5 separate regions of the Homo sapiens genome follow, and regions 2, 3, 4 and 5 are each linked to region 1. Evidence: promoter capture Hi-C in human tissues and cell types (Jung and others, 2019). All regions are on one chromosome and are shown on one strand. Each heading gives the region's core, a stretch centred on a gene start or on the middle of the fragment in contact. The rest is flanking DNA. Distances are from core to core; before and after follow the strand shown.

The links. Contacts are between HindIII fragments. The study calls those that stand out against the background at their distance.
Region 2: a contact is called between a fragment that was not itself captured here and the fragment with the promoter of PCDH10 in region 1, in 1 of the 25 tissues and cell types used here (mesenchymal stem cells).
Region 3: a contact is called between a fragment that was not itself captured here and the fragment with the promoter of PCDH10 in region 1, in 1 of the 25 tissues and cell types used here (H1 embryonic stem cells).
Region 4: a contact is called between a fragment that was not itself captured here and the fragment with the promoter of PCDH10 in region 1, in 1 of the 25 tissues and cell types used here (H1 embryonic stem cells).
Region 5: a fragment that was not itself captured here is called in contact with the fragment with the promoter of PCDH10 in region 1 in 1 of the 25 tissues and cell types used here (lymphoblastoid cells).

The regions. Positions count from the first base shown.
Region 1 is chr4:133,145,198-133,151,524 of GRCh38, forward strand. It overlaps PCDH10 (protocadherin 10), which reads left to right and starts at 4,097. Exons shown (of 5, transcript NM_032961.3): 1 at 4,097-6,327. The coding sequence starts at 4,944. PCDH10-DT (PCDH10 divergent transcript) reads right to left here and starts at 3,919. Exons shown (of 9, transcript NR_125885.1): 1 at 3,832-3,919; 2 at 2,002-2,079; 3 at 407-548. RefSeq lists an enhancer at 3,841-3,900 and a silencer at 4,011-4,150. The HindIII fragment of the contact is 10,822 bases long and covers 1-6,327 here.
Region 2 is chr4:134,573,578-134,579,904 of GRCh38, forward strand. No RefSeq gene overlaps it. Among named protein-coding and RNA genes, the nearest start is that of LINC02462, 150 kb to the left of the region's middle. The HindIII fragment of the contact is 4,379 bases long and covers 117-4,495 here.
Region 3 is chr4:134,463,073-134,469,399 of GRCh38, forward strand. The region is part of intron 3 of LINC02462 (long intergenic non-protein coding RNA 2462); the gene reads left to right. Among named protein-coding and RNA genes, the nearest start is that of LINC02462, 42 kb to the left of the region's middle. The HindIII fragment of the contact is 4,039 bases long and covers 1,110-5,148 here.
Region 4 is chr4:134,266,140-134,272,466 of GRCh38, forward strand. No RefSeq gene overlaps it. Among named protein-coding and RNA genes, the nearest start is that of PABPC4L, 68 kb to the left of the region's middle. The HindIII fragment of the contact is 3,125 bases long and covers 2,543-5,667 here.
Region 5 is chr4:134,149,834-134,156,160 of GRCh38, forward strand. It overlaps a transcript of PABPC4L not described here. Among named protein-coding and RNA genes, the nearest start is that of PABPC4L, 49 kb to the right of the region's middle. The HindIII fragment of the contact is 5,431 bases long and covers 380-5,810 here.

The sequences.
Region 1 (6,327 bases), core at 2,847-5,346:
TGTTTAGAGTTTAACAAAATGTTGTCCCTGCTTGATAACTGAAAAGGCACTGAAATGTGAAGCCACCCCAATATTAACTAGGTTAAACAAAATGGAGAAGCACATTTCTACTTTCAATATCAAGATAATGGTGCTTGATGGGATATCTAGTATTTTCAATCCCAAGAACAAGGATTGGTTTGTTCTCTGATGGGCTTGAAGGATTAAAACACAGTAACTAAAGAGTTACCTGAATACTTAAAATTGCATATGCTATAAATCTTTCCCAGAAATTCCAGTCAGCATTCACTTTTTACTATAGATGAACAAAAACTAACACAATGTTTGTGGCATTGGTTCCAAAGCCTTGTCTTCCCACCTCTTAAGTTAGATTACACTACCACAAATAAACCTATTTCATGCTTACCCATAAAAGATGCAATGCACTTTGGGTCTTTTGTATTTGTTCTCTGAGCTGTGCTTGCTGAGAATGACAAGTGCCAGGAACAACCATCTAGGTCAATCCTGGTGGAGCCTGGTTATTGATAAAGTAATTTTTCCTTCCAATTCTAAAAAAAAAAAAAAAAAAAACTTCCCTCAAAGCTCTGGGCACATAGCAATAATAAGAGGATTTAGAAACAAATTGCTTTCAAGTCATGTTAAATCACTGCAAACACTCATTTATCCAAAGGCTGGTTAACAAACTTGTTTCTGCCCCACCCTTTGCAGCAAAGGGCAGAGAAGAAAGCAATCCCTTAACCCAGTTTCAAAGTTTGTAAAACACACTTGTGGGATCCTTAGCGCCCCCCTGTTTCTGCTGCACTTAAAGCCCAATGAAATAAAAAATGTGCACTATCACTCTAATATATAAACCAGGACTTTTATGAAAACTGATTTTGATAACCTCCCTCCAAATAATAAAACTATTCCTCTGTTTCTTAGGGTGCAGTTTGTCCTGGCTCAAACAGTTTGCGCTCCTAGGGGGTGGACGGGGGAGGGTGAAGAAGGGATTACGTACAAAATATTTCCTTCTCCTTTTCCGCTCCAGTAACGGGGGGATTGAGGAACACAGAATATACATGATGCTCTACACTTCAAAGAGGTAGTCAGCCTCATTACTGAGGCTGCCGTATATACAAACCTCATCTCACTAAATTCTGGGGTCCACGGGAGTAAGAATGAAAAAGAAAAACGAAAGGCAGGGATCTGTTTGATTGACACAGCAAGGGAAAAAGTAAACCTGTTACATTTTAGAGGCATTTTAAAAGGCAAATTTAAAGTGTTGTTTTGTTTTGTGGGTGACGGGGCATGGTTGTTTTAAAGGCTCTAGGGTAAAGGGGCATAGAAGGCTATTAATGCCACTATCTGATCTTGGCTCCAAACAAAATGCTCTTGGAATTGCCCTTGGCTGGAGCTATCTAGCGGGAGGCGGAGGACCAGGCTCTGTTCTGTTCGGCCGGGAAGAAGACCCTACCGTCACTCCGCCGGTCCCTGGCTGGCGCCACAAAGACTAGAAGTCGGAGAGGCGAGACCTCTAGGGGGCCTGGGCTCAGCGACGCTGGTGCGGACACAGACCCCTATGACCCAAGAAATCTTGTAGAGCCCCCAAAAGGCGAGCTCTCCAAAGCAAAATTCTCTGGCCTGCCCTATGCTGATTTCGCCGCTAGGAGACGCCTGTAACCCACGTTTGCGGAGAGAGTTCCATTCAAACACATCTGCTACCAAAAATAAAAATAAAAAATAAAAAAAAATAAAAGCAGCTCAAGTGTTACAGTGGATGTAGTGATTATTTACAGGCAAATCTGGCCATCTCATCTCCACCTCTGGAAGCTCTCTGGCTTTCAGCATATGCCCCAAGTCAGCTCAAACTTCATCTACATTTCAGGGGTAGAAACCCTCTTCCCCAGTTTCTGGATCTGCATTGTCATTCAGCTGCATGTCTCCCACATGCAAACACGCGCGCACTCGCGCGCACACACACAAGTGTTTCCATACGTACAAATGAACGCATTAGAAAATTACCGTCATTTTTTAAAAGGCTCCAGGATTCTGACGAGTCAGCTTGAAGAGCTCAAAACATTTCATTTCAATTCTGCAGATCTGAAGAAAAAGAAAGGGGGGAGGGGTGGAAGTACAGATGCAATACCGTATTAATATTCAGATACACTATAATCTCCTTTTCATTGATCCACAGGTCCCTTTATACACTGCCGCTCCATTCTCAGCCGCAGACGTGATGCTAAAATCATTTTAACTGCAGCGGTTTTCGCTTGGCTTTGGCCAGTCTTCAATTTACTGCAGCTGGAAAAGGATTAGCCATTTTTGCTGGAATCCTTTCCTTCTAAGCGCTCAAAGGCAGGACCCATCTTCATGAAAGAGCCAAGTGCGGGGGCCGGGGGGACCCGGCGTTGCGGGGAGTTGGGGCGCGGAAATCAGGGCAGTAGACGTGCATTCGCGGGACTCTCAGAAGCACGTCTCAGGCTACTATCACGCCCATGGACACTAGCCCTCCTTAACTCCTTGCCAGGAGGAAATGGCAACGTATCTCCAGGTCGGAAAACGACTCTACTTTTCCCGCAGGTTGTGGTGGTGTATTCTTGGGTCATTCATTACCAGAAAGCAGCAAAGGACCTTCCTATCTCTTTGCATAAAAAGGAGATTGAATAGGGGCTTCTTTCGTGAATAAACAACCAATTCCTTGCTAGTGGCCCATTAATTAAAAATATATATTTATAGATCTTTCCTTAGAGAACTGGCATTCTATCCACTCTCCAGCATTAAAGAGTTCGCGCTGTGTTTTAACTTCACAAGAACTAGCTATGTGGATGTGCCGCGTTGCCCCTGCGCCTCCGGAAGGGGCACTCACAGCTGGTCAAGCGCGTCCTTCGGAACTCGGGGAGGCTCCGTTGGGGCTTACACAGAGCTAAGCCCTGGGCCAGGGAGGATGGATGCAAGTACCGTGCATGTGCAAACGTGTTCGCAGATACCCGCAGCGGTGCACACTCGGGCCCCTCGTGTGCACGGGCCCTGCCCACCACCCCGCCCGCGTTCGCCGCCGCCCCACTGTCCTCATCCCGCGGGCTGACCCCAGGATTGGCAGAAATCAGTGGTCTAATCTAGCATGGTGGGTAAAGGGATCGATCTCCAATTGCCAAAAAAAAAATAGAAAATAGCCGGTGTTCCCAGCCGCTGCGTGGCACTTGGCCGCACAAGGCGCAGGGATATCAGAGGCGCTTTGCAGCGCTTGGCGGTGCTGTGTGCCGGATGCCCCAGAGCCCGGCGTTAGGATGGCGGGCTTGTAGGAAGCGGCTCAAATCAACTCCTCAGTCACTGATGAACGCGCTCACGGCTCGAAGCTAGGTCCTCGAGTGAGTTAATCTACTTGGTAAGTATTTTGTGAATATGTATTTTGGGAGGAAAGAAGCACGTCGAACGCGTCTGCCCGTCTGTAAGCGCTGTCATCCCCACATCCTTTAGCGTGAATTCCTCCGCTTTTTAGGAGTCACCTCCACCCCCTACTCCGTATGCTTCGCGCCTTTCCTCACGGCCCCGTCAGACCCCCTCACCTTTAGATTGACACATGCCATATAATACTCACTTTTAAAATGCCCTGCCAGTCTCTGCTAGGGTCCCTTAATTAGGTAACCCTTGCCAATTAGTGGGCCCTGCGCTACTTTTTCCCTTCTCGATGATTTATTTCCATGATGCGTATTAGGGAAAATACCTTAAAGGAAAAAGAATGTTAGCATCATTGGAAATCCCGCTCCTAGGAGAGGATATCGCAGCTGTTGCTATTATGTTTTCGCATTTGCTGATGCAAACAGGGGAACCTCTCTATTCCCTCCCCATTACCTGCGGCTGGGGACTGGGAACTTTCCGCGGCATTGTCCCCAGCCAGCGCCTCGGGACCTGCGGGGCTGTTCTCGCTCTCACACTCACACTCACCCCGGCCGCTCGGGCGAGAGTTCTGTCCCGCCCCGCCCGGCTGCCGCGTGACGTGTCTGTTTGGCGGCCAGTTTGGCCAATCATCGGCAGCTCGGTGGGTGGTGCTCCTGGGCGATTGGTTGGCAGAATGAGGGCGCTGCGCAAAAACGGAGAAGCCGAGCGCTCGGAGCTCAGAAACTGCCAGCCCAGACCACAGGCTCAGAGGCTGAAGCAGGAGGAAGGAAGGACTGGAAGGAAAAAGAGACAGGTTAGAGGGAAAGAGGCTTGGGAAGAAAACAGCAGAAAAGAAACTGCTCATTACACTTACAGAGAGGCAAGTAACGGTGGAGATGAGGACAGAGGGAACCAAGACTCTGAAAGACAAAAAATACAAATAGAGCGAAAGAGGAAAAAAATGTCAAGAAGAACATCCATCCGGAGAAATGAAGAGAATGAAAGTTTTAAGCTGCAGAGCCGTTCTGTGCTTTTCCGGCACAAAATTATATCGCTGATTTTAAGCCCTTTTGCATTTGCCAGCCGTTGACATTAAGAGGCATGTTTAACGGTGCCAACAGCATCTCCTTTTCCTTCTCCTCTTCCTCTTCTTCTTCTTCCTCCTCCTCCTCCTCTTTTTCCTCCTCCTCGTTCTCCTCCCATCAGCAAGAAGACAAACCGAGGACAGTCTTGAAATATCGAAATTTCCTCTTTGGGATTTGCCAGCGCCAAGACTGTCGGAATAAAGGACGCTGACTATTGTATTATTGTTATTTTATTAATTAGTCAGTGGAAAGATTACAGATGAGGAAAGGGGACGCCTGTCACCCTTCCTGTGCTAAGATTTAAAAAAAAATGAGGCTGGATTGCGGGAAGCTCTAAAATGAAGCAAAAGGAGTAAGATTTTTAAAGACAGAAAGCCACAGGAGCCCCCACGTAGCGCACTTTTATTTGTATTTTTTCAGATTTTTTTTTGTTTCGTGGTGGTGGGGGAGGTGATTGGGTGGCTGACTGGCTGCGGGAAGCTACTTCCTTTCCTTTTGGAGATGATTGTGCTATTATTGTTTGCCTTGCTCTGGATGGTGGAAGGAGTCTTTTCCCAGCTTCACTACACGGTACAGGAGGAGCAGGAACATGGCACTTTCGTGGGGAATATCGCTGAAGATCTGGGTCTGGACATTACAAAACTTTCGGCTCGCGGGTTTCAGACGGTGCCCAACTCAAGGACCCCTTACTTAGACCTCAACCTGGAGACAGGGGTGCTGTACGTGAACGAGAAAATAGACCGCGAACAAATCTGCAAACAGAGCCCCTCCTGTGTCCTGCACCTGGAGGTCTTTCTGGAGAACCCCCTGGAGCTGTTCCAGGTGGAGATCGAGGTGCTGGACATTAATGACAACCCCCCCTCTTTCCCGGAGCCAGACCTGACGGTGGAAATCTCTGAGAGCGCCACGCCAGGCACTCGCTTCCCCTTGGAGAGCGCATTCGACCCAGACGTGGGCACCAACTCCTTGCGCGACTACGAGATCACCCCCAACAGCTACTTCTCCCTGGACGTGCAGACCCAGGGGGATGGCAACCGATTCGCTGAGCTGGTGCTGGAGAAGCCACTGGACCGAGAGCAGCAAGCGGTGCACCGCTACGTGCTGACCGCGGTGGACGGAGGAGGTGGGGGAGGAGTAGGAGAAGGAGGGGGAGGTGGCGGGGGAGCAGGCCTGCCCCCCCAGCAGCAGCGCACCGGCACGGCCCTACTCACCATCCGAGTGCTGGACTCCAATGACAATGTGCCCGCTTTCGACCAACCCGTCTACACTGTGTCCCTACCAGAGAACTCTCCCCCAGGCACTCTCGTGATCCAGCTCAACGCCACCGACCCGGACGAGGGCCAGAACGGTGAGGTCGTGTACTCCTTCAGCAGCCACATTTCGCCCCGGGCGCGGGAGCTTTTCGGACTCTCGCCGCGCACTGGCAGACTGGAGGTAAGCGGCGAGTTGGACTATGAAGAGAGCCCAGTGTACCAAGTGTACGTGCAAGCCAAGGACCTGGGCCCCAACGCCGTGCCTGCGCACTGCAAGGTGCTAGTGCGAGTACTGGATGCTAATGACAACGCGCCAGAGATCAGCTTCAGCACCGTGAAGGAAGCGGTGAGTGAGGGCGCGGCGCCCGGCACTGTGGTGGCCCTTTTCAGCGTGACTGACCGCGACTCAGAGGAGAATGGGCAGGTGCAGTGCGAGCTACTGGGAGACGTGCCTTTCCGCCTCAAGTCTTCCTTTAAGAATTACTACACCATCGTTACCGAAGCCCCCCTGGACCGAGAGGCGGGGGACTCCTACACCCTGACTGTAGTGGCTCGGGACCGGGGCGAGCCTGCGCTCTCCACCAGTAAGTCGATCCAGGTACAAGTGTCGGATGTGAACGACAACGCGCCGC
Region 2 (6,327 bases), core at 1,056-3,555, 1.4 Mb after region 1:
TCAATGATATCCCCATCAAGCTATCATTGGCTTTATTCACAGAATTGGAAAAAACTACTTTAAATTTCACTTGGAACCAAAAAAGAGCCCGCATAGCCAAGACAATGCTAAGTAAAAAGCACAAAGCTGGAGGCATCACGCTACCTGACTTCAAACTATACTACAGGGCTACAGTAACAAAACAGCATGGTACTGGTACCAAAACAGATATATAGACCAATGGAACAGAACAGAGGCCTCAGAAATAACACCACACGTCTACAACCATCTGATCTTTGACAAACCTAACAAAAACAAGCAATGGGGAAAGAATTCCCTATTTAATAAATGGTGTTGGGAAAACTAGCTAGCCATATGCAGAAATCTGAAGCTGGATCCCTTCCTTACACCTTCTACAAAAATTAACTCAAGATCAATTAAAGACTTAAACATAAGACCATAAAAACCCTAGAAGAAAACCTAGGCAATACCATTCAGGACATAGGCATGGGCAAAGACTTCATGACGGAAACAGCAAAAGCAATGGTAACAAAAGCCAAAATTGAAAAATGGGATCTAATTAAACTAAAGAACTTCTTCACAGCAAAAGAAAGTATCATCAGAGTTAACAGGCAACCTACAGAATGGGAGAAAATTTTTGCAGTCTATCCATCTGACAAAGGGCTAATATAGTCTCCTTTCTTAAGTGAGGCAATCAGAAAAGACTACTTTCAATCTCATACTACTGTAACAGTGAAATAATTGTGTCTTTTCTCCACTCTTTCTCCAATTATAATAAAAGACATATATCTTTTTAGGTCAAAGGTAATTTTTTTATTTGTGTTTTGGGACTGTTTTTCCCCACTCTGGAACACCACTGACAAAACTTTCTCATATATAATCAATTATTTCTCATTAGGGGCATCTTCCCTTTAACACATAAAGAGATACACATCAATCCATTACACAAATAAACAAAAACAGCAATGACAACAAAACAAATTATCTCCAACTATAATGTCTCTTCATACTAACAATCATAATTACTCAAAAAGCTTTTACATTTCTTGTTGCCTCACCTTATTACACAACTCCGTATATTCTATGATCTGTGCTGCCGCCCAAATTTAAATTATTTTTGCAAGAATTGAAAATGATTTCAGTATTACTAGTTAAGTGTGAACTCCTCAGTCATTTTTCTAATTGCTCTATTAGAAGCAACTTAGTTATTCTTTCTCAGCTTTTCATACCTTGACTGTTGTCACACCACTCTCCTGATTAGTATTTTTTAATTCAATTGTATCCTTGAAGACTCTATATGGATGACCCACAGGGAACTTAAAAATGATGCCATCCCACTCTCAATAAATCAGTTATTGTGTCTGCTTTGAGGCCACTATATGCCCAGTTGCCAAAAAAAACTCTGCCTCTTTGTTGATCCTATCTTTTTATCCCAAGGCTATATCAAAGCATCCATCAAAACTACTCTTATATTTTCTAAACATTATTTAAATACCTCCACTGATATCTATCACCCAGTTGCTGTCTTTATTTAAATGTTTTATGATCTCGCTTAGTCCTGTATAATCTCTCTTATATGACTTCCTATCATAATGATTTCTAACACCAATATAATTTTCTCACTGTACATCTAGTAGTCTTTCTAAAGTTAAAATGAAACCTTGTGATTTCACTGTTTAGTGGCTTTCCATTTTCTCTTGTTCAACTCCAATTTTGAAATATTGTATTGAATTTCTTGAATATCTAGGTATGGTTGATGTCTACAGATTTTCTAATGTTCTTCTCTACATTTGAAATACATCAATAACTCTCCTTCAGATAATCCTCCTTCTACCAATTCTCAGTTGCTGATAAGTACAACCTTAAGCTGTAATGATTCCAACTTCCACTTTCACAAGCAAACTTGTTTTTCCCCCAAGATACTGTCCTACATTTACTGTAGCATCTTAGTAACTTAAGAAGAGTAAAACTGTGCTAATATTTTAGTAGCTTTCTTTATTTTTATTTCTGTGTGTCACTAAAAAAGTGTTTAACTGTTATGTCTTAGTTCCAATTTTCTCCAAACATTTATGGTTATTACCACATGATTTTGCATTTTGTTATAATTCTTCCAAATGCATAGATTGCATTATAGGAGAACTGACTATGCTATTACTTATGTCATATTATATAGGATAAATAATATGCTTAGCAAAGATCTATAGTTTTTTCAATGACATATAGTATTGTAGAGCTGGGATAGAAATGCAAGGAAGCTTGCTCAAAAATATATTCGTCCCAAAAGTCATTATTAAAATTCATATATTGTCACCATTATGTCCTTGATATTTAACAAGGAAAAAGATTTTGTTAATTGAATGAATAAACAAATGAACAGAAGATGTTAAGTAAGAAGTATGAATATATTTAAACATATATCTTAAGTTATTTTTCCTTTTGTGAGTTATTTGGTAATATATTTGATGTTGTGAATTAAGAATTTGAACCATTGTGTATCATTAAGTGAGAAAAAATAGAATATTGCATATAACATGATACTACCAGCTATTTTATATAAATGACATACACACATATAGGTAAAAACAAAAACTGTTCATTAACGTTTTTATTTTTCAAAATCATGTATCATTTTGAAGTATGTGTAACATTGTAAAGAAACAGCATGAACTCTCATTTATTCAGTTTTTGTCTGTTTTATTTAACCTCCAAGGGCAGACAACACTTTTTAAGACATTTGTTGAAGATAATTCAGGTTATTTGCTTTAAGTATTTCACATGTGACAAAGGATTTTTGCCTCAGAGAATGACTGTCATGTTCAAGGCAATACATTTCTCATAAAATAAATTATAAAAGAATTATGTTTTCTATGATGATTATAATCATACTGCTATATACTTTAAATTTTAAATATTTATATGATTATTTACTCCCAAAATACATTTTGTTGAATTTTCAAAAGAAAATATTAAATTCTCCAAATATTCAAGTGTTCATAATAAGGAACTTAATTAAATAATTTACAATTAAATGTAAAAACTAAATGCACTGTAAAATAGATTTTCGCTGGCATAATGTTATTTTCCAAGGAAAGAGTAATCATTATTTGTTTATCAAGAAATTTTCATATGTAAATTTTGTTGAGGAATTACTTATACACGCTTATCAGCACTTTTTAATTAATCTTTTGATAAAACTGCTAGTTTCTATTTTAAAGTATACTAATAGAGAAGAATGATTTAAGCAAAACAGAGAATAACTTTCTTACTTATTAAGAAAGAGATTTTGTGTAGTCCCTGGATGTTAGGTAGCTGTGCTAGTTAATTTTTACATGTCAACTTGACTGGATTAAGGGATAATTCAATAACTGGAAAGCATTATTTCTGAGTGTGTCTGTGAGGGGTGCTTCCAGAGGATGTTGGCATTTGAGTTGGTAGACTGAGTAGGGAAGATCTGCCCTCCATATGGCTAGGCACTAGGCAATCGACTGGGGGCCTGACTAGCACAAAAAGGCAGGGGAAGGGCAAATTTTTGCTGTCTTCTGGAGCTCGGCCACTCATTGTTTCTTGCCTTTGGATGTCGGAACTCCAGATGCTCTGGCTTTTGGACTGTAGGATTTGCACCTGTAGCCCCCTGGGCTATTGGGCCCTTAGCCTTAGATTGAGAGTTATGCCATCTGGTTTGAGGTTTGGGGACTTTGAAACAGGCTATCGGCTTCCCTGGTTCTCCAGCATGTAGATGGGCTATTGTGAGACTTCTCAGCCTCTGTAATCATGTGAGCCAGTTCCACTAATAAATTCCATCTCATCTATTTATCTATCTGTCTATGGGATACATATATCCATCCTACTGGTTCTGACTCTGTAGGAAACCCTGGCTAGTACAGTAGGTAATATAAATTAGCAGTTCCTCTGATAGGCCTTACCATAGCACAGAAATGATTTGCCAAATTAGATTTGTTTATGCTTTACTGAAATATTATAACAACAAGACTTTGCAGAAATCCCAACAGTAAGTGGGAATACATTTAATGAAGCAATATTATAGCATAGTAAGAGAGTTTCATTTAATTTAAAAATTTATAAATTATGAGATTTTTTTCCCAATTCATAGTTCAAATATTGAACAATTCAACAACTTTAAGTAGGATACCTAGACAATTTATTGTTTTATTTCTAGCAGCCTCACGCACATAAATGATACAAAAAGAGTCGAGAATATTTCTACCATGATCATTCCTCTGTGTGTGTGTGCATGAGTGTGTGTGTGTGTTTCTGTGTGTACAGGCTTTTACAGCTATTAGAGTTATTAAGTCCTAATAGCTGTAATAGTTTTCTTAAGTAAGTTGAGGTATTCCCTTTTTAAATGCTTCAAGGATGTTTGAATGAGTACTATGAAGTTGCATTAGAAATATTTAGTGTAAAACCAGACAAAAATGTGAAAGATTCCTAAATTATGTGTATTTTTAAAGTCTGTAAAAGTTAAGATCTAACATTACAGGAAAGATATACATAGAATTCAAAATAGTCCTCTATTAAGAAGATTAATTGAATCTATTGAAATGATAAAATAACCTATGTGGAGGTTAGCAGATCTTAATTATCTACTCTTGTCTCTTCAGCATACTACTTAAACAAAAAGATAAAAATTGTGCTGAATGTTTCTCTCTAGATATGCCATCTTGGCTAATAACAACTTCAGCCCACAGAGAAATCATCCCACAAAATTTTGGGATGGTGACTTCCATTTTCTTAGTGGACATCTTTAAATTTGGGTGCTTAGAATTGAAGTTCAGGCTGGGCGCAGTGGCTCACACCTGTAATCACAGCACTTTGGGAGGCTAAGGCAGGTGGATCTCCTGAGGTCAGGAGTTCGAAACCAGCCTGGTCAACATGGTGAAATTCCATCTCTACTAAAAATACAAAAAAAAAATTGGCCAGGAGTCGTGGTGCATGCCTGTAATCCCAGCTACTTGGGAGGCTGAGGCAGGAGAATTATTGAACCCGGGAGGCAGAGGTTGCAGTGAGCCGAGATCACGCCATTGTACTCCAGCCTGGGGAAAAAGAGTGAAACTCTGTCTCAAAAAAAAAAAAAAAAGAATTGAAGATGATGATGATGATGATGAATAATTTGATTCAAACACAAAGCATCACTGTTCTTGTGTTGGGTCTTAGAAACATTCTGTGCTAGTATTTAAATTATACATTTGCTAGATTGAAGAAGAAAATTGAATATATGATGTATAATTTTAATTAAATTTAAATTTTTTAAGGAAACTTATTTACCCAAGTGCAAACTCCTCAAAGTTATATAAAGATTTATGAGTTTTATAGGGAATAATAAGGTTACTTAAATTTAATTTAAAAATTAAAAACATTGTTTAAAATTTATTTCAGTAAATGAAATATTAATCTTTAAAACAAAAGAAAGTGAAAAGGTTTTGTGCCCCAAAAGCTAACTTCAAATACAACAAAACATAGCTTTACAGGTAGGTTCAAAATACGTAATTTAAATTGATGCAATAATATCTCACATATTTAATTGTGTTCTTTTGATTTTTATAACACTATTAATGAGTTTTTTAAATAGAAAAATGTATGATTAATTTTTTGGAATTTTGTATATTAGCCAAAATTAAATTTATTTGTTATTTGCTAGCAAATTTGATAACTAAATGAGCAATAACTTTCTCCCATATTGTCATTGTTGCAAATTGTCTATTTCTAGGTGAACCTTTCTGGCCAAAATAACCCGCCGTTGCATGTAAAGAGACCATGAGTTTTCTTATCATCTTTTTCAGATTTTGCTATCAGAATAATGCTGATCCTTGAGATAATTTTTTAAAATCCTGTTAGCTGTCAGTCAAATATCTGTACAACCATTTAGCAAAGTAACCAAGTTCTAGATGAATATACTCACCATTGAATAAAGTTTAGAGTTTATCATAACAAGAGCTATAAAAAGGGTAAAGAAACACTCTGTGCTGTATTTACAATGTAATTGGCACTGTGCTGTGAATTTAACATTTATTATTATAATCAATATTATTAACAACCTTAAAGAGCATGTAAGATTATTTTCTTGGCTTCAGTTTAGTTTTCTTGCATTACAAATCTGGAAATATAGTGACCTATAAAAACAATAATTTATAAGCTCCATGAAATTGCAGTTTGAATAGAGATAGGTATGGAAGGCTAATTTCTGCTTCATATAACATCAACTGGGACAGTTTGCCTGGGGACTGAAGAATTTAATTCCCAGATACCTCATACACATGGCTGTCTCAATTGGTGCTCACTGTTGGCTAAGTGTTCAGCCACTGCTGAAAG
Region 3 (6,327 bases), core at 1,879-4,378, 1.3 Mb after region 1:
TATAGTTATATGAATTATCTCTTAGTTTGTATATACAGGCTCAGTTTGAGGAAAAATGAAAATATGTGGACCAGTTCTAGCAATGTTGAGTGTCAAATTTTTTTGTACAAATGACAATTTTTCACGTAGATTCAGAAACAAAATATTCTGTTTATATTTAAAGAATTTGCCCAAATGCATTTAAATGTCTTTCTTATAGCAAAAGCTAATAAACCAACAAAAAATTGACCTCATTGTCCCCAAACTATCACCACTGAAATGCTTCTTAAAGCGCTAAGGTTTTCAGAAGTACAATAGGACAAATAAGCTTGGTTGTTTATCTCTCTCAAAATACATTTACAGTAAAAAAATTATTAGTTAAATTAGTTTATGATTCTACTGCACTGTATAATTCAAAAAAAATCGCCAAATTTTTCATCTGCTTTCATGTCCTTTCCTATAAACTCTTGTATTTTCTATATTTCTGTACCATAATTTTTGTGGGATGTTGAGAGAAAAAGTGGTTAATGTCTGTGCATAAGCCACCTGTTTTTTAATCCCTATTTTGTTATTTTAAAATATTTAACTGACCACCTCTTAGATGGGCAAAACTCCTTTGCTTCTTAGAAAATTTTTTCTTTCATGTTCATGCCTGTTTTCTCAATTTCATCCCGCATTAATACTATTTCTGAATCAGAGCAAAAAAAAAATACAGAAATAAATGTTCTTTGCGTTTTTATTTTTCCCTAATCAACGCTTATTACAAATTTTATAAAGGAGTAACTGGTATACAGATTTTCTCCCAATGTAAACAACTAGAAATCTGGACTAAAGGTCTGAAACAATGTTTTCACTCATTGGAATGATATGAATTACAGCATTATGCTTCCTGAGAGACAGATCCACACTGAATTGCTCTGTCTTTTTGTCTGAAGGTAAGTTCTGGATTACAGAGCGAGAAGAGAAGCAAAGCAAGCAATACAGTCTTGTCTTGAAGAGACAGACTGTAGTTTGGGAAGACTGGGAATGCTGCAATTTGCGGGGTAAAGCAACAGTAAGGAGGGAACTCAAAAATACATATAGTGGTTCCCGTTTTTCTTGACTGAATATTAATCTGCATGTGCACAGGGTGAAACTCCACAAAGTCAAGCAATATCGACTGCAAACAAATTGTAAGAATATTAATTCCCAGGCCACACACAAGGATGGAAGACAGTCAGTGTCCAGAGAGAGTAAAAAAATCTTGTTGAATACTTGAGATAATTAATAGAAGCCTCAGACGTTTCACAACTGGCTAACAGAGCTATATTGGCCCTTGAGTAAATTCCACTTCAGATCCAAAAAATAAAAATAAACAATAAAAAAACCACAAAAGCCTCCTTTTAAAACTTATCTACCTCCCAAAGCAAACTTCAATAGTCTTTAAAAGAAGTCAACAAAATCTAAACACTTGACAAAAAATAATGTACAATATCTGGGATCTAGTAAAATAATCACTAGCTAGGTAAAAAAACAGACCTGTGAGCCACATGAGAAAAATCATTAAAAATAAAGTAAAATAAGGAAATTAAAAAAAGGATAGATTTACCATACAAGAACTTAAATAGAACTATTAGAAATGTTTAAATATTTGTTTCATATAACAAGTGTACACACACATAAGTATATATAAGTTTACTTATATACTTATTTATTTTAGGGATTGACGTATGCAATAGTGGGAGCTGTCTAAGCAGTCTCTGTCTGACTGTTGTCTTCAGGTCTGATGCTGTATGTAGTCCACAGAGCAGGAAGTCAAGAAATGAATGAGATGGACTAAAACTGTCATCAATTCTTAGTGACTCTGACCTTAAGTGGTAAATGTCCTGAAAAAGCTGGGACCCTTTACCACAGATCTAACCATACACAATTCTGGCCCAGGAGTCAAAGAAGCTTTAGGAGAATGACAGAGAAGTTGGGGCAGTTGCAAACCTGACCACTTCTCTCCACAAAGGAGGTGAGGCAGTGGATAAGCAATGATGCGTACGAGCTGCAAAAAGACTGCCACTTCACTTCTACCTTTCAATTCCCCACAGGAAACTTTCTTGTTGCCTATTCTAACTGGAAAATGCAGGAAAGGAATTCTGAGAAATGTAGTTTAGCTCAGCGGCACAGGCACATCACTAAGCCACTGCAATATTCGAACTATTATAGAAGAACATAATGCAAAAGATACATAAAAATATTTAAATAAGAACCAAATGGAACTTCTAGAGATAAAATTTATAATATCAAAATTAAAATATCCACTGGGTAACTTTAGCAGCTATATCACAGTAGGTCAAATCACCAATAAATTCAAATAAAAAGCAATAGAGAATACCTATATTAGCCAGCTCAGGCTGCCATAACAAAACAGCACAGGCTGGGTGGCTTGAATAAGAGAAATGTATTTCCCCACAGTTTTAGAGGTTGGAAGTTCAAGATTAGAGAGCCAGCCTGGCCAGTTTCTGGTGAGGACCCTCTCCCTGGCTTGCAGCAGCTGTCTGCTCATTGTGTCCTCCTATGGCCTTTCTTTTCTGCATGCATGTGTGGAGAGATGGAGCTCTCTGGTGTCTTTTCCCAGAAAGACACTGACATTATTGTATCCAGCCCCCACCCTCATGACCTCCTTTTCAACCCTATCTCCAAATACAGTCACATTGGAAGTTAGGGCTTGAACAAGTGAATTTTGAGGAGATAAAATTCAGTCCCTAGCAATATCTAAACTGAAGCACAAAGATATATTTTTTTAAATAGACAAATAAATTAATCCAAGCCTCAGTGGCCTGTAGCAAGTATTCTAATTTATATGTAATTTGTATTCCAGAAGAAGAGGAGAGCAAAGTAGAAAGTCAAAAAAGTATTTGAAAAACGGTGCCCAAACTATACCAAATTTAGTGAACGCTATATCCCCTGTGTTGAGAATCTCAGAAAGTCTCTAGCAGAATAAACATAGAGTTACACTAAGAAAAATCTAAATCAAACTGTTGATATACAATGCTAAAAAAGAAAAATGTTAAAGCAGCCACACTAAACATTTGAGAACAAAAATAAGAATGGTTATAGACATTTCATTAGAAATGAAGAAAACAAGGAGTGAAACAAACTAATTAAGTTGCTGACAAAAATTACCAAACCTTAATTTATATATAGGAAAATATCTTTCCAAACTAAAAGTGAAATATTTCTCAAGCGAACAAGACCTAAGGGAATTCAGAGCCAGCAGACATACACTAGAAGGAATATTAAGGAAAGTTCTTCCCTGGCTGAAGAAAACATACCAGGTGGAAACACAGAACTACAGTAGACCATGAAGAATGCTATTTCTGAGTGTGCGGTAAATAAATATTAAAGACTTTTTCCCCATCTTTTAGTTCATTAAAAGATGACTATTAAAACCAAAACATAGTAACTGTATTGTAGGCCTCTCAAGACATCTATTAAATGTATGGTAAAAATAACACAAAGAACAAGGGCAGAAATGGAAGTTGTAAAATTCATGTTATACGTATTAAACATATATGTTATACATATTATTGTATTATACATCAAGCAGTGAACTATAAATATTGGACAAATATGATAAGATAAAGCATTTTAAAATTATATAACAGTGACCCTAAAAATAAAACAAAAGAATATGGCTAAGTCAATACTAGATACATAATTGAGGAGAAAAATAATTACTTTGAAAGAAAAAAAGGACAGAGAAAAAGGAAGACAAATAGAATGCAAATACAATTGTATGCATAGCCCAAATATATTGAAAATTATACAAAATATAAGTGATATGCACATTCCAGTTGTAGGTCTATATAAGAAAGTAAGAGCCAATTATATGCTGTCTATATGAAAATTATTTTAAATATTGAGGTATAGTCATGTTAAAAGAAAGGATGGGTATAGTCAATATACCATGCAAAGTCTAATAATCAAGAATGTAAGTGGGAATACCAATATTAGGTAATGAGAAACTTAAAAATAATAACATGGATAAAGAAGGACATGTAATTATAAGAAAGTTAATTTATCAAGAGACATAAACACATCCTAAATGAGTATGCACTAACAACAATACTTTTAAAAGTAAAAAAATTGTTAGAATCAGAAAGAAAAGAGGACACATTTTAGAATTACAGTTGGAAATTTTGTCTGTCTTTTCTCAATTATTGATAGACTATGTAGATCCAAAATCAATAAATACATAGAAAATTTGAGTGATAACACCAATTATGTTGACTTAATTTGTATTATACGCTATGCTGCAACAGTAGTCTATGCATAATTTTTAAGTTTGTAAAATATTTTAAAATATATGCCATATGCTGGGTCATAAAACAAATAGCATAAAATAACAATTATCTGACTATAATGGGATTAAATTAGTAATCAAAAATAGACAGATAACTAGGTTACCCCTAAATATGTAAAATTAAAAAATACACTGGTTGATAACTTGAAGTCCAAGAAAAACATCAAAGGGAAATGTAAAAATATGAAATAATACATAATGAAACATCTTAAAAACTGTTCTGTGGCTAACCCAATACTGAGTTGGAAGTTTACAGCTTTCAATGTTTATGGTAAAGAGAAGAAAGGTCTTAATTATTTGGTCTAATCTTCCATTTTAAGAATCTAGAAAAACAAGTAGTAATTAAGCCCAAAGTGAGTAAAAGTAAGGTAATAATAAAAAAAGAGCAGACATTGATGACAGAAAAGTGACAATAATGGGGAAAAATTTGATAAAACCAAAAGCAAATTCTTTGAACACATCAGCCAAATTGTTCATTATCTAGCTATTGCAATAAAAGAAAAAAGAGTAAGAACACAAATTACCAACACCATTAATTAAAATGCTGATTTTTCTAGATTTTAATTGTATTAGTAGCAGAAAACCTTCCAACAAAGAAAAATCTAGACCCAGAGGCATTACTGGTTATTCATTTCAAATATTTAAACAATAAATAATATAATCCCATACAAAATATTTCAGAAAATTGAAAATAATCTCCAAAATTAATTTTTAAAAAGAGAATACAAGAAAAAATATTTTATCTGTATATTTAGTTTCTATTGCTGTGTGGGAAATTATCACAAGCTTAGCAGCTTAAAAGAACACCAATTATTATATCAAAGTGTCTATGGGTCAGATGTCTGTACACAACTTAGTTGAGTCCCCTGCTCAGTATCTCATAAAGCTTCAATCAAGGTTTCAGTTGTGTATTCTGGAGCTCAGGGTTCTCTTTCAAATTCATGTTGTTATGGCAGATTTCAGTTTCTTACAGTCTGGGACTGAGGCTGTCAGATCCTACAGGTCACTCTTGCTTGCCTGACATGTGGCCCTGTCTGTCTGTCATAGCACCTTGCCTTTGCAAGGTCCATTGGAAAGCTTCTACCATTTATAAGTAAGAGGGACTAATACATTATAACCCAATCATGGTTGTGATATCCCATCATCTATGCCATATTCCATTAATTAGAGGCAAGCCACAAGTCCTGCCTATGCTCAAAAAAAAAAAAAAAAAAAAAGATTGTATTGGTTATAACATTAAGGTGTGGAGATCATCCTGGAAATCTTGGATTTCTGCCACATGAAATCTTATATAAAACATCTACTAAAATCCAAGAGTAAACAAAATACATAGTTGAAAGACTGAATTCTTTTCCTCTCTATTGGGGAAGGCAAGAATATTGGGAAAATATTAGGGAAAAGAAAGGATTAAAATGAAGTTGCTGGGGTAGAGAAGTGATTCAAGAAAAATAAATAAAATATACAAACTAGAAATGATTGAGTAATATTTACATGCACAAATATCTTAATCATCTATTTTTAAAAATCCTTAAAATTACAAAAATATCCTAGAAATAGCCAGTGAGTTTGGAAAGATTATTGGATACCAGATTGATATGCAAAAGCAATTGAATTTCTATATATTAGCAAAAAAAAAGAGTGCGTAAATAAAATTTAAAAGTAATACCATCATTAAACATGGAATAATTTGTAGTAATTTTAACAAAATAAGTATAACACCTGTAAAATTAACAGTACCAAACATAGTTGAGAGAAATTAAAAACACCTAAATAAATGGAGAAATATATAAATATATCATGTCAATACATTGCATGAGACTATATTGTTCAGATGTCAATTTTCCCAAAATTGATCTATAGACTGAATGCAGTCTTCATAAAAATTACTATTTTCTCCCTAGAAACTGAAATACTATTATTTACATATGAGAACTCTAATTAACGCATCACTATGCTTATGATGTTTCTAGTCTTCTGAGATTCTAACCACATCTGTCATTTGTGTAGTAATTCAT
Region 4 (6,327 bases), core at 2,855-5,354, 1.1 Mb after region 1:
AAGTCGGCAGTGAGATAATTAAAACCAAACTACGTAACATAGAAAATACAGAAACCAAGCTGGGTGCAGTGGCTCATGCTTGCATTTCCAGCACTTTGAGAGGTTCAGGCAGGAGGATTGCCTGAGGCCAGGAGTTTGAGACCAGCCTGGGGAACACAGTGAGACCCCATCTCTATTTTTTTTAAATTAACTTGGCACAGTGGTGCACACCTGTAGCCCCAGCTACTAGGGAGGTTGAGGTGGGAGGATTGCTTGAGGCCAGGAGTTTGGGCTGGGTAACAAACAAAAAAAGAATTAAGAAGGAAAAGAAAACATAGAAACCAAGGTTACTGCCCTCATGAAACTTACAGGCTCATATAGCGAAGATTTGCTAATCATATGAAAAAATACAGATATACAATGATAAATTCAAATTATTTTACCGTTAAATTTTAATGATAATTTTAATATGGGAAATGCTTGTTGTTGAGAGAGAAAATTAAAAAAGAAGTGCCACTGTAATTTTTAGGAGATTTTTAAAAATTGTGGTAAAATACAACATAAATTTAACAATTTTTAAGTGTACAATTCAGTAGCATAAGTATATTCACATTGTTGTGGAACCATCATCCCTATCATTCTCCAAAACATTTTAACATTGTAAACTGAAATTATCTACTCCTTAAACAATAACTCCCTATTTCTTCCTCCACACAGCTCCTGATCACCGCTATTCTACTTTCTCTATTTACCTTATATAAGTGGAAATGTGTAGTATTTGTTCTTTCGTGTCTGGCTTATTTAATTATCAATGTTTTCAAGACTCATCCATGTTGTAGCACATATCAGAAAATCATACCTTTTTGAGGCTGAATAATATTCTATTTTATGTGTATGCTATTCTTTGTCCATTCATATGTTGATGGGCATTTGGGTTGCTTCTACCTTCTGGTTATAATAAAGCTGCTATCAACATCAGTGTACAAATATCTGTTCATATTTCTGCTTCCAATTTTTTTGGGTACTCAGAAGTGGATTACTGGATCATATTCTATGTTTAATTTTTTTTTGAGAAATTGACATGCTATAATCCACCACTGCTATTTTTCAGCAAAACCTAATGTGTACAATGAGAAGGTCAATTGAAGAGTATGTTAGATAGTGATGAGGGGGTGAAGGGCATTGGAGGGAAGAGAAAATTTGAAACTGAGGTGACATCATGATGCAGAGGCCCTGAGGCCACATTGGCTAGTTCTGAAGATGCTGAAGGCTTAAAGGAGGACAGCATGTGGTTGGCCATGAAGACAGGAAAGGAATTGGGTTAAACACGATTTGCAGACCTGGTAAGGTGCCAGATAAGACAAGACCATGTAGGCCACTGCAGTGTGTTTTCATTTTATTCTCTGTACAAAGAAAACACTGTGACAAATTTTCAAGTAGGACTATCCTAGGGCTTAAATTTTATCATACGAAAAATAGGAGTAAGGCAAGAACATATGAAGTGAGACACCTTAAGAGGCTATTACCAAAGTTCTCCAGGTATGACTTTATTATTACCTTGCATGAAGAAGGTGGGGTTTGTGATATGGACTTAGGAAACTTGGTGATGAATCCAGTATAGGAAGTATAGGAGGTAAGAGAGATAGAGGTGGCAGGATTAACTTACAGCTTTTTGTTTGTAACAGCTCAATGGATGTTTGCATCATTTACCAATGAGGAAGAGATTGTGGGGGAACATGTTGGTTTGGGAAATTTCAGATTAGAAGTGCCTATTAGAGATATGAAAATCCTATGATTTAAAAAGTCTCTCCTTGAGTTTAGAGTTACCTAAAGAGGAAAAACTTTGGAAATTATTATTTTTTTCAGATTTGACTTAACCTGCAGAGATATAGTGATCCTATAGAGTAAGCGTTTTTTTTTTTTCTTTTTCTTTTTTTGTTCATTTTACTCTGGAAGCCAAAGATGACTGCATTATTAAAAGAAAACAAAGATAACAAAATGTACCTGAAACCTTCCTTCAAAAATCATTTTATTTCATAGAGACACTAAAATTTGTTACTCACAATTACCTGGTAAATTTACCCTATATAATTTGTCAAATGTTGTAATTCAGGCAAAATATGTACTACCTTCTCAATATATTAATACAAAATGACCTGACTATACAAAACCAATTCACTGTATATATCTGAAATCTCACAGTTGACTTTGTTTTATAGATTTCTTCTCAATTTTATTGTCTTCTGCCTTAGTAGAGTGTTCTCTGCATATTACATTTTAGTCATTACTACTGTTTGGTTGGACTTTGTGAAGTCTTTTTTTTTTCTTTTTCCTCATGAATAGAAGTGTCCTGGCAAAGAAAATCAATTTGTCACCCATTCTTAGGACTGTAAAACTGTTGCCACTTGGTCACTTACAATCTTAGTGTGCATTGAATTTTATTGGTTTTATGCCACCTCACAAGTAGCTCTTTGCCTTTGATATTTTACAATATTATTATGTAATCTGGTGAAACTACTTCATGTATTTCTTCTAGAATACATTTCAAAAAAAATCTGCACAGGAGCTCAGAAACATATTAAATAAGGCTAAAATATGCCATAGTTCTCCTGAGGTGATTCTTGTAGGAAAAAATAAAAAATAGTTTACATTTGGTAATATATGTGCCATGTTATCATTACTAGAAACATTAGAAAAAGCATAATTGACATTGTACTAATATGGTAGCAAGGAAAAATTATCACTTTGATTTTAGGGCTATGATTTTTTTTCATATTTTTATGGTTATATGACTCTATCATGTGTTTTGTTACGTGTCCTTCCAACTACCCACTAGCCAGGAGAAAAATAAAGCTACTTTAGGAAAAAATATAGAAGAAGAAGGAGAAGAAATGAAAGAGGAGGAAGAGGAAGAAGAGGATAACTTTAATGAAATTTGACAGTTATATGAAACTGTTTTCACTGGTTATAAATATAATAATATATAATTCATAATAATATAATATTTCAGAAAATTAGAAAATACAAAAAAAATAGAAGAAGGTACTGCCAATGGTAATTCTTTTCACAAGAAGTAAACATTGTTAACATATTCTCGTATATTCTCCAGTATTCGATGTATAATGAGATTCAGCTGATTTTTTTACTTGCCTTTTTTCATTGAAAGCCAATCACAATTTAAATAATAATATAAACTACTTCCAAATACTGTTTCACCTAGTGTTGAAAGGCATTATTATTCTCATACATGTCTGGTAAATTTGCATTGTAAAACTTGTCAGTCTGGATTATTGACATAAAATTTTTGACTCTCTGCATTTACCTTTAAAAGTGGCATGCTTATACAGATTATTTTAGACATTGAGAGGACAAAGATGACCCATATGAGACAGCAATAAAGGGGCTAGAGATGGCCATGATGACCCTGCCTAGACTGAGTTGGCTAGACAATAACAGTCCTCTGACAAATCTGTAAAAGTTAATTCACTGAGAATTAAGAGTGGTAGCAGCCATTTAAAGAACAAAAGAAAAGATATCTAAACATATATGCAAGATTGTAGAAAGACACAAAATATATTTCTTGAAAAGAGTCAAAGGTAGACAAGTTGACCCTTAGCTGAGGCTTCTTTTAAATATTCTAATATTAGTGATATGATATGCATTGTGATAGGAATGTACTTGTAGTTAGACAGGCTTGTGTCCAAATTTTGAATTTACTTCTTATATTTGTATGAATTGTGCATGTCATTTAACTTCTCTAACTTGGCTCAGTTTACTCATCATTAAGATGATATTAATTATAAGATTTCTTCATTGGATTCTTGTGATTATTGGATGAAATTTGTATAAACAGCTTAATACAGTGAGTAACATATAGTAAATGATTAATTAATGGTACAAGTAAATGACAGCTATAGAGATATTTCTTACATCACTGATTTTTTTCTACTCGAATTGCTATATTACCCAAATAAACAGATATCATATATTCTATTCATATTGCTATTCCATTAAAATGTACAACTTATTTAAATTATCCATGATACTTCAAATGTGTAAAGAATGTCCATTTTCATCTGCTCTATTTTGTGATTTTTAAAGAATACAGGCATATCATTTTATTGAACTTCACAAATGCTGCTTTCTTTTTTTTTTTTTTTTTGAGAGGGAGTCTTGCTCTGTAGCCCAGGCTGGAGTGCAGTGGTGCGATCTAGGCTCACTGCAAGCTCCCCCTCCCGGGTTCAAGGGATTCTCCTGCCTCAGCCTCCTGAGTAGCTGGGACTACAGGCGCATGCCACCATGCCGGGCTAATTTTTGCAGTTTTAGTAGAGACGGGGTTTCACCATATTGGTCAGTCTGGTCTCGAACTCCTGACCTCAGGTGATCCACCTGCCTCAGACTCCTAAGTAGCTGGGACTACAGGTGCCCGCCACCATGCTTGGCTAATTTTTTTGTATCTTTAGTAGAGACGGGGTTTCACCGTATTGGTCAGGCTGGTCTCAAACTCCTGACCTCAGGTGATCAGCCTGCCTCGGCCTCCCAAAGTGCTAGGATTACAGGCGTGAGCCGCCACACCTGGCCAAATGTTGCATTTTTAACTAATTGAACCTTTGTGGCAACCCTGTGTCGAGCAAATCTATGGGTACCTTTTTTTTTTTTTTTTTTGAGACAGAGTATCGCTCTTGTTGCCGAGGCTGGAGTGCAATGGCATGATCTTGGCTCACTGCAACCTCCACCTCCTGGGTTCAAGGGATTCTTCTGCCTCAGCCTCCTGAGTAGCTAGGATTACAGGCATGCGCCACCACGCCCGGCTAATTCTTGTATTTTTAGTAGAGACGAGGTTTCACCATATTGGCCAGGCTGGTCTTGAACTCTGGACCTTGTGATCCGCCCACCTCAGCCTCCTAAAGTGCTGGGATTACAGGCGTGAGCCACCGCACCCAGCCGGGTACCATTTTTTCAATAGCAGGTGTTCACTTCCCATCTCTGTGTCACATTTTGGTAATTCTTAAAATATTAAAGTGTTTTTTTTATTATTGTATCTGTTCTGGTCATCTGAAATCAGTGATCTTTGATATTTCTATTGTAATTGTTTTGGGGCTCCATGAACTGTGACCATATAAAGTGACAAACTTAATTGATAAATGTTCTTAATTGACATGTTCTCACTGCTCCACTAACCAGCCGTTCCTCAGTCTTTCCCCTCCTCTTGGGCTTCCCTGTTCTCTGAGACATAACAATATTGAAATATACTGAAATATTTAAATTAGGCCAATTAATAACCCTATAATGGCATTTAGGTCATCAAATGAAAGGAAGAGCCACTTTAAATCAAAAGCTAGAAATAATTAAGCTTAGTGAGTAAGGCATGTCCAGATAGAAATGGGCTAAAAGCTAGGGTTCTTGACTTAAACAGCTTAGTTGTGAATGCAAAGGAAAAATTATCATAGGAAATTAGAAGTGTTACTCAAGAGAAGACACAAATGATAAGAAAGTGACAACAGCCTTATTTCTGATATGAACTAAATTTGAATAGCCTGGATAGAAGATCAAACCAGTCACAAAATTCCTTTAAGCCAAATCCCGATTTAGAGCAAGGCCCTAACTCTTTTCAATTCTAGGGAAGCTTGGAGAGGTAATGAAGCTGAAGAAAAGTTAAAAGCTAGCAGAAGTTGGTTCATGAGGTTTAAGGAAATAACCTGTCTCCATAATGTAAAGTGCAAAGTAAAGCAGCATGTGCTGATGAAAAAGCTTGAGCAAGTAATGCAGAAAAATCTAGCTGAGATAAATGCTGAAGGTGACTATAGTAAACAACAGATTTTAAGTGAAGATAAAACAGCCTTTTATTGGAGGATAATGCAATCAAGGGCTTTCATAGCTAGAGAGGAGAAGTCAATGCTTAGCTTCAAAGGACAGGCTTAATCTCTTGCTTGGAGCTAATGCAGCAGGTGACTTCAGGTTAAAGTCAGTATTTGTTTGTTCTAGAAATGGAAAAACAAAGTCCAGATGACAGCACATCTGGTTACAGCATGGTTTACTAAATATTTTAAGTTCACTAGTGAGACCTACTGCTCAAAAAATAGATTCCTTTTAAAATATTACTGCTCACTGACAATACCCCCAGTCAGCCAAGAGTTCTAATGAAGATGTACAAATGTTGAATGTTGTTTTCACACCTGATAGCACACCCATTCTGCAGCCCATAGATCAAGGAGTAATTTCAACTTTCAAGTTTTATTATTTGAGAAATACCTTTTGCAAGGCAATAGCTACCACAGATAGTGATCCCTTTGATGGATTTGGACAAAGTAAATTGAAAACCTTCTGGAAGGGATTAGCTATTCTAGA
Region 5 (6,327 bases), core at 1,845-4,344, 1.0 Mb after region 1:
ATCAATATATCACACAGTGGCTAGGTGAGCTTTTCAAGGGATGGTAGCAATACTTAGGGCTAAAGTTTATTCTCTACTGCTAATTGGTTAGCATTCAGGCATGGCAATATCTATTGCAGGAAGAGGGAGCCCATATTGGGCCCAGGAATATTTACCAGTTCTGCTTGGTTCTACAGTAACTAAGGACAGACCATTTTTGCTGTTTTCTGTTCTTTTATTCTTTTATCATTTTTGGTTCTTGGTTTTATTATGTCTTTTTTTTTTTTTGAGACAGAGTCTCACTCTGTCACCTAGGCTGGAGTGCAATGGCGCGATCTCGGCTCACTGCAACCTCCGCCTCCCGGGTTCAAGCGATTCTCCCTGCCTCAGCCTCTCAAGTAGCTGGGATTACAGGCGCCCACCACCATGCTCGGCTAATTTTTGTATTTTTAGTAGAGACAGGGTTTCACCATGTTGGCCAGGCTGGTCTCAAACTCCTGATCTCACTTGATCCACCTGCCTTGGCCTCCCAAAGTGCTGGGATTACAGGCATGAGCCACCGTGCCCTGCATATTATATGGCATTTTTAGCAATGCTATAATTAATAAATATGGAGTATGTCTTTGTTGACTTATCCAGATATATCTGTAGTATTAATTTCTACTTCAGTTCTTGAGCCAAATATACATGTGATGATAACATTGCAGGTAATTTTGATAGAGAATGCAAATTTCACTTTAAAAAAATTAGATTCCTACTTTGTGGGTGTATGAAAAGATCAATTAATTTGATTAAGCCAATTTCAAGAAAGATCATGCTATAATGGCCATGCTATTTAGGTTCACCTGGACTCCTGGTACAAAGATTTTCCACGTTCCAATCCAAGATATGAAACCTCCCCCACCCTTGGCATTCTTCAACTCATGGGATTTGTGTTAAAGTTAGCAATGGAGTTTGATTAATTAATTAAATCCTCACATAATTGAAGCACATGCAGATACATAACAAGTTCACTATCCAGAATGCTTTTAGTAACATTTTTTATGCCAGTATAAACTCAAAATATCTCAAATGTCCATCAGCAGTTAAAAAGACATACAAATTTTGGTATATTAATAAACGAAACATGATACAGCCATGAAAATACATGAACCGAAGTAAAACTTCTTGCAAAAATAGAATGGATTACACAAACATGTAAAGTGACTGAAGTCAGACCCAAATGAATACATACTATATAATTCAGTTTACATAAAGTGTAAAGTAGCCAGAAGTATAGTATTGTGTTAGAATTCAAGATAGTGCTTATTTTGGGGAAAGGGAGGCTAGAATCGGAAGGGAAATAAAATAAATTTCTGAAAGGCAGGCAATCCCTTGTTCTTGACCTGTTTGTGATTACACAGGCATTTATGTTAAAAACATGGAGCACTGTATACACTACATACTTTACTGTATATGTATTACGGTTAAAAATAAAAAATAAAAAGAACACAAAATTAAAATCTCATAGTTGCACATGCTAACCATTATATCCCAAAACATGGTTACAATTTTCTCAGCACTTCATAAATATTGCTTTACTAAATTTTTGTTGGTGTTGTTCATCAAAACGATCATATTATAATGTCTTAAGAATAGAATCGAGAGGTGTGGAAAACTTTTCCTGATATAAACAATGTTCATTAAATATTCTTTCTGATCATTTTATTTCAGAATGGTAACTTATAATATAAAGTCATTTATATCCTAACAATATCTATCTACTCCATCAACACATACAAAATTGTCAGAATACCTACATTTAAATAGTACATTTCATCTTATCTTTTCTAATGTTTTGCCAATTATTTATTTTATTAACTCAAAATAAAGAGAATAGAATTAACTATTAGTGGGGACACATCAAAGTTGTAAAATTTTATCATGTATTTCTAGAATATAATATATGTTACCATTTTCATAGCAAATTTAAAATACTTTGAAATGACAAAGGGAAAATTGGACAACAGAAAAATATGTAAAATGGTAAGTTAATTAAAGCTTATTATAATATAAGAATATTCCTGGTAAATTCCCATCATGAAATTAAAAACTATATTATCAGTTAAAATTTTTTGCAAAAAATAATGTAACATATTTTTATATTTTTACTGAATTTCCATTTTATGTCCATATCAATTTAGATATTATTATTTTTGAGCAGCTTTTCAAGTTTTTTGCCCAATTTTCTAATGGATTGTCATTCTTTTATTTATTGATTTATACAAGTGCCTTATATAATCTGAAATCAGGTCTTTTGTTAGAGATATTTATTGTAACTATTTTTCTCCTGTGGTTTACACTCTTTTTTCTTAATGTTTCTTTTGATAAAAATGAATAATAATATTGTTGTTTAAGCTTTTAGCTTCTATAGCTACGAGAGATATTGACTATTAATATATTTCAATATTATTTTCAGGTTTTAGTGTTAAGAATATGTTACATTATAAAGTATGTTAGGAAAGTATATTGTAACTCTAGGTTTTTTGAATAATTTCATGTAAGATCTTGGAGATTTCCTTCTTAAATATATGGAAAAATTGACTGTTGAAAATTAATAAAATTTAAGGCAGTGGCCCCATTTCCACAGCTCCACTAAGCAAAGCCCTGGTGAGTACTGTCTACAGTGGTTCTGCCTCTGTGGCAGGCTTCTGCCTGAGGATATATCCTCCGAAACCTAGGTGAATGTTACCAAGCCTCCAGCACTCCTGCATTCTGGGCATCTGCACACTCAATACCATGTGGAAGACAGAGGGGCTTACAGCTTATGCCCTCCAAACGCTTCCAACCTCTCCCCATTGCCCAGTTTCAAAGCTGCTTCCACATTTTCAGGTATCTTTACACCATCCCTCCTTTGGTACAGATTTACTGCATTAGTCTGTTTTATGTTGCTATAAAGAAATATCTGAGGCTGGGTAATTTATAAAGCAAAAAGGTTTTATTTGGCTGACACTTCTCCAGTATGTACAAGAAGCATGGCATCAGAATTGCTCCTGGTGAGGGTCTCAGATTGCCTCCACTCATGGTAGAAGGAAAAGGGGAGGCAGTGTGTGCAGAGATCACATAGTAAAAGAGGAAGCAAAAGAGTAGGAGAGGGGTGATGCTAGCTTATTTTTAACAACAAGCTCTGGAAGGAACTAATAGACCAAGAACTCACTCAACTCTCACACTAGAAAGGTTAATCTAGTCATGTGAGATCTGCTCCCGTGACACAAACACTTTCCATGAGGCTCCACCTCTAACACTGGGGATCACATTTGAGAGTGATCATCACATTGGGGATAAACATCCAAACATAATAGAATTCCTTTCAACTCATTTTCATTATAGCTTGTCTCTATTTTTTTAGTACTGTGTCTTTCATATTGAGTATAAATAAGGTATTAATCGCAATATAAAATTCATCACTCTTCTGTCTTTCTGCCTTCATAGTGTTTTAGTTTGCCGAGTCATCACTGTTAATGCTTGGATATAATGTTCAGATGCTGGTTTTTGAAGTATGTGTGTATATATATATATATTTTAAATATACCAATAGACCAAGAATATTTTCCATGCAAATGTCCATAAAGGTTACAAGAAATAATATTTACTCTAAGTCAAAAACAAATCACAATTTTGAGTTTGACAGTGAAAGATTTTATTTTCAAAATTTATTTAATTGTTCACGTGATATTATTTATTTAATGTGAATAAGGGTCACCTTAGCTAAAGGCCGTATACTTTTGGATACTTTTCCTCCCCACATTCAGTATTCTGTTTTGTTTAAATACAAGCATATTTATTCTTTCTTTCTTTATTTTTTTATTTTCTTAAGATAGAGTCTTGATCTGTAGTCCATGCTGGGGTGCAGTGGTGTGATGTTAGCTCAAAGCAGCCTTGAACTCCTAGCTCAAGCAATACTCTTGCCTCAGCCTCCAGAGTAGCTGGGACTACCGGGCATGTGCCCCTATGCCTAGTTTTTTTTTTTTTTTTTTTTTTTTTTTGTAGAGACAGGGTCTCACTTTACAAATATCTTTATTCTTAATGAGCTTTTGCTACTTTCTGCATGTTTTAAAGGCTACATAGCTAAGATTATTACACAATAAATTAGGAGAGGATTTTAACATTTCAAACAATTCCAAAGAGGAAAAAGGAAGGTGGTGAATCCTGTCTTGTCTTTATAAATGAAACGCGTCCCTAAAGGAGCTAAATTGGGATCAAGGAACCAAGAAAAATCACTCAGTAAAGATAATCTATCTTATTATCTATATGAAAGTTTAAATGTATTCTTATAGGAAACATTGACTCCATAGAAAATTGGTATCTTTAAATAAAATATTATGAAATATTTTTTATAAGAAACTCTACTTCAATCTTACCTATATCCATATTTAGGCAGACTGCCTGAGCTCAGGAGTTTGAGATCAGCCTGGGCAACACGCCAAAGCCTCATCTCTACTAAAAATACAAAAATTATCTAGGCGTGGTGGCGCATGCCTGTAGTCCCAGCTACTTGGGAGGCTGAGGCACGAGAATTGTCTGAACCCTGGAGGCAGGGGTTGCAGTGAGCTGAGATCCTGCCACTGACCTCCAGCCTGGGCAACAGAGCCAGACTCTGTTTAAAAAATAAATAAATAAATAAATAACATCTCCCCTATCCTTTTGAATTTTACATATGATTTGCAGTTTATTATATACCTAATATTTTACCTTCTCATTGATTCCTCTATAAACATTGCCTTTGGACAATCAGAAGAATAAATTACTCCCTTTTAAAACTTCACATTTGGCTGGTAAGATTTTTTTTTCTCCAGTGTTGTGTGGTTCATCATATTAATATTTTGCATTATTTGTACTTTATATATAAAAGAAACCTTGCTCATTCTGAATTTAAGTGTTTTTAAACATTCTAATGACAGTAGAATTTTTTTAATTTTTAAAATTTTTTTAAATTTCTTAAGTTTCAGGATTATGTGAGCTACTGTACTTCTTTTTAAACTTCGCATTTAATCTTAACATTTTTGTTGCTTAATTTGAAAAAGAAGTTGGTAGATTACATTCATGATATTAATTTTCAGGTAAAGTGATAAAACACTATAGCAAAACTTCAACCGAATATTGTAGATGTTTTTTCTTTATATATAACATTATTAAATAGAGTCGAAATCACCATTATTATACAAATGCTATCACAAAATGATGCTAGTGATGTCAGTGTAGAAGCTGAAATGACAATTCATATGGCACAAATGGTATTGCCAGAGGTGACATGATTTTCCAAAATGTTGAACCACTCTAGATTACATTTCAAAGAAAGCAAAATACAATCTCCATATAATTTATCCAGTACTTTAATTTGACGGGCCTGAAAGCTATGTAAAATTTATTTTATATTTCTGTGTAAAATGGAAGGCTATATTTAAAGTAGACTTCTTATTCAAGTCATTTGTCTATTACATAACTTTATTTTTCTTACAAACTCTGATAATAGGTTGTCTATTTTCCTATTCCTTCTTTCTCTCCCCCAACACACATTATCTATTTCTAATCAACTTCTAATCATTATTTCTCTCCCAGTTCACACACACACACACACACACACAGAGTCATGTACAAAACATACTGTCATATACACACAGTCTGAATGTAAACTTCTGAGATCTATGTCTATCTTCCCCATTGCTCTATCCTCTATACATTGTAATTATTCAATAAATATTTGTTAAAGAAATAAATAATTTTTATTTTCATCATTTTATTTGAAATAAATGTACTGTTCCTCTAAGTGAATTACATATAATCATTTAAAACCCAAAGTTATTATGACAAGATTAGAACAATTCAGCCAGAACACTGCAGTGATAGTACTAGTAGCTGTCTTCCATGGTTATTTTATCGTTAACTACCAAAAAACCACAGCATTTAAATCAGAAGATAAATATTTTTGTAATCTGAATTTCTACACTAAAAGTCAAATGAGCTAACTCTAATAATTGTACACTATGTTATTCACCTACAAACTTTTAAAAATGGATAGCTGTTAGTTTCTAAGTAAGAAACAATAACATAAAAAGCATTGAATTCAAAATGAGCCAAGGTACCCTTTAGCAGAAATGTTGAATTATAGTTTGTCTAAGGAATGCTAGTATTGCTCACGTTTGCATATTTAGATTAATAGTACATTTCTACAAGGTTTGTGCTGTAATTGGAACTTAAGTAACATTTGTAAAGTGTTATCTGTCGGAGCCTGAAGAGACCCAAAGAGAATGTATGTCATTATGCAAAATTACTAATTAAGTACAAGTAATTTAGCAGATAATTTACATG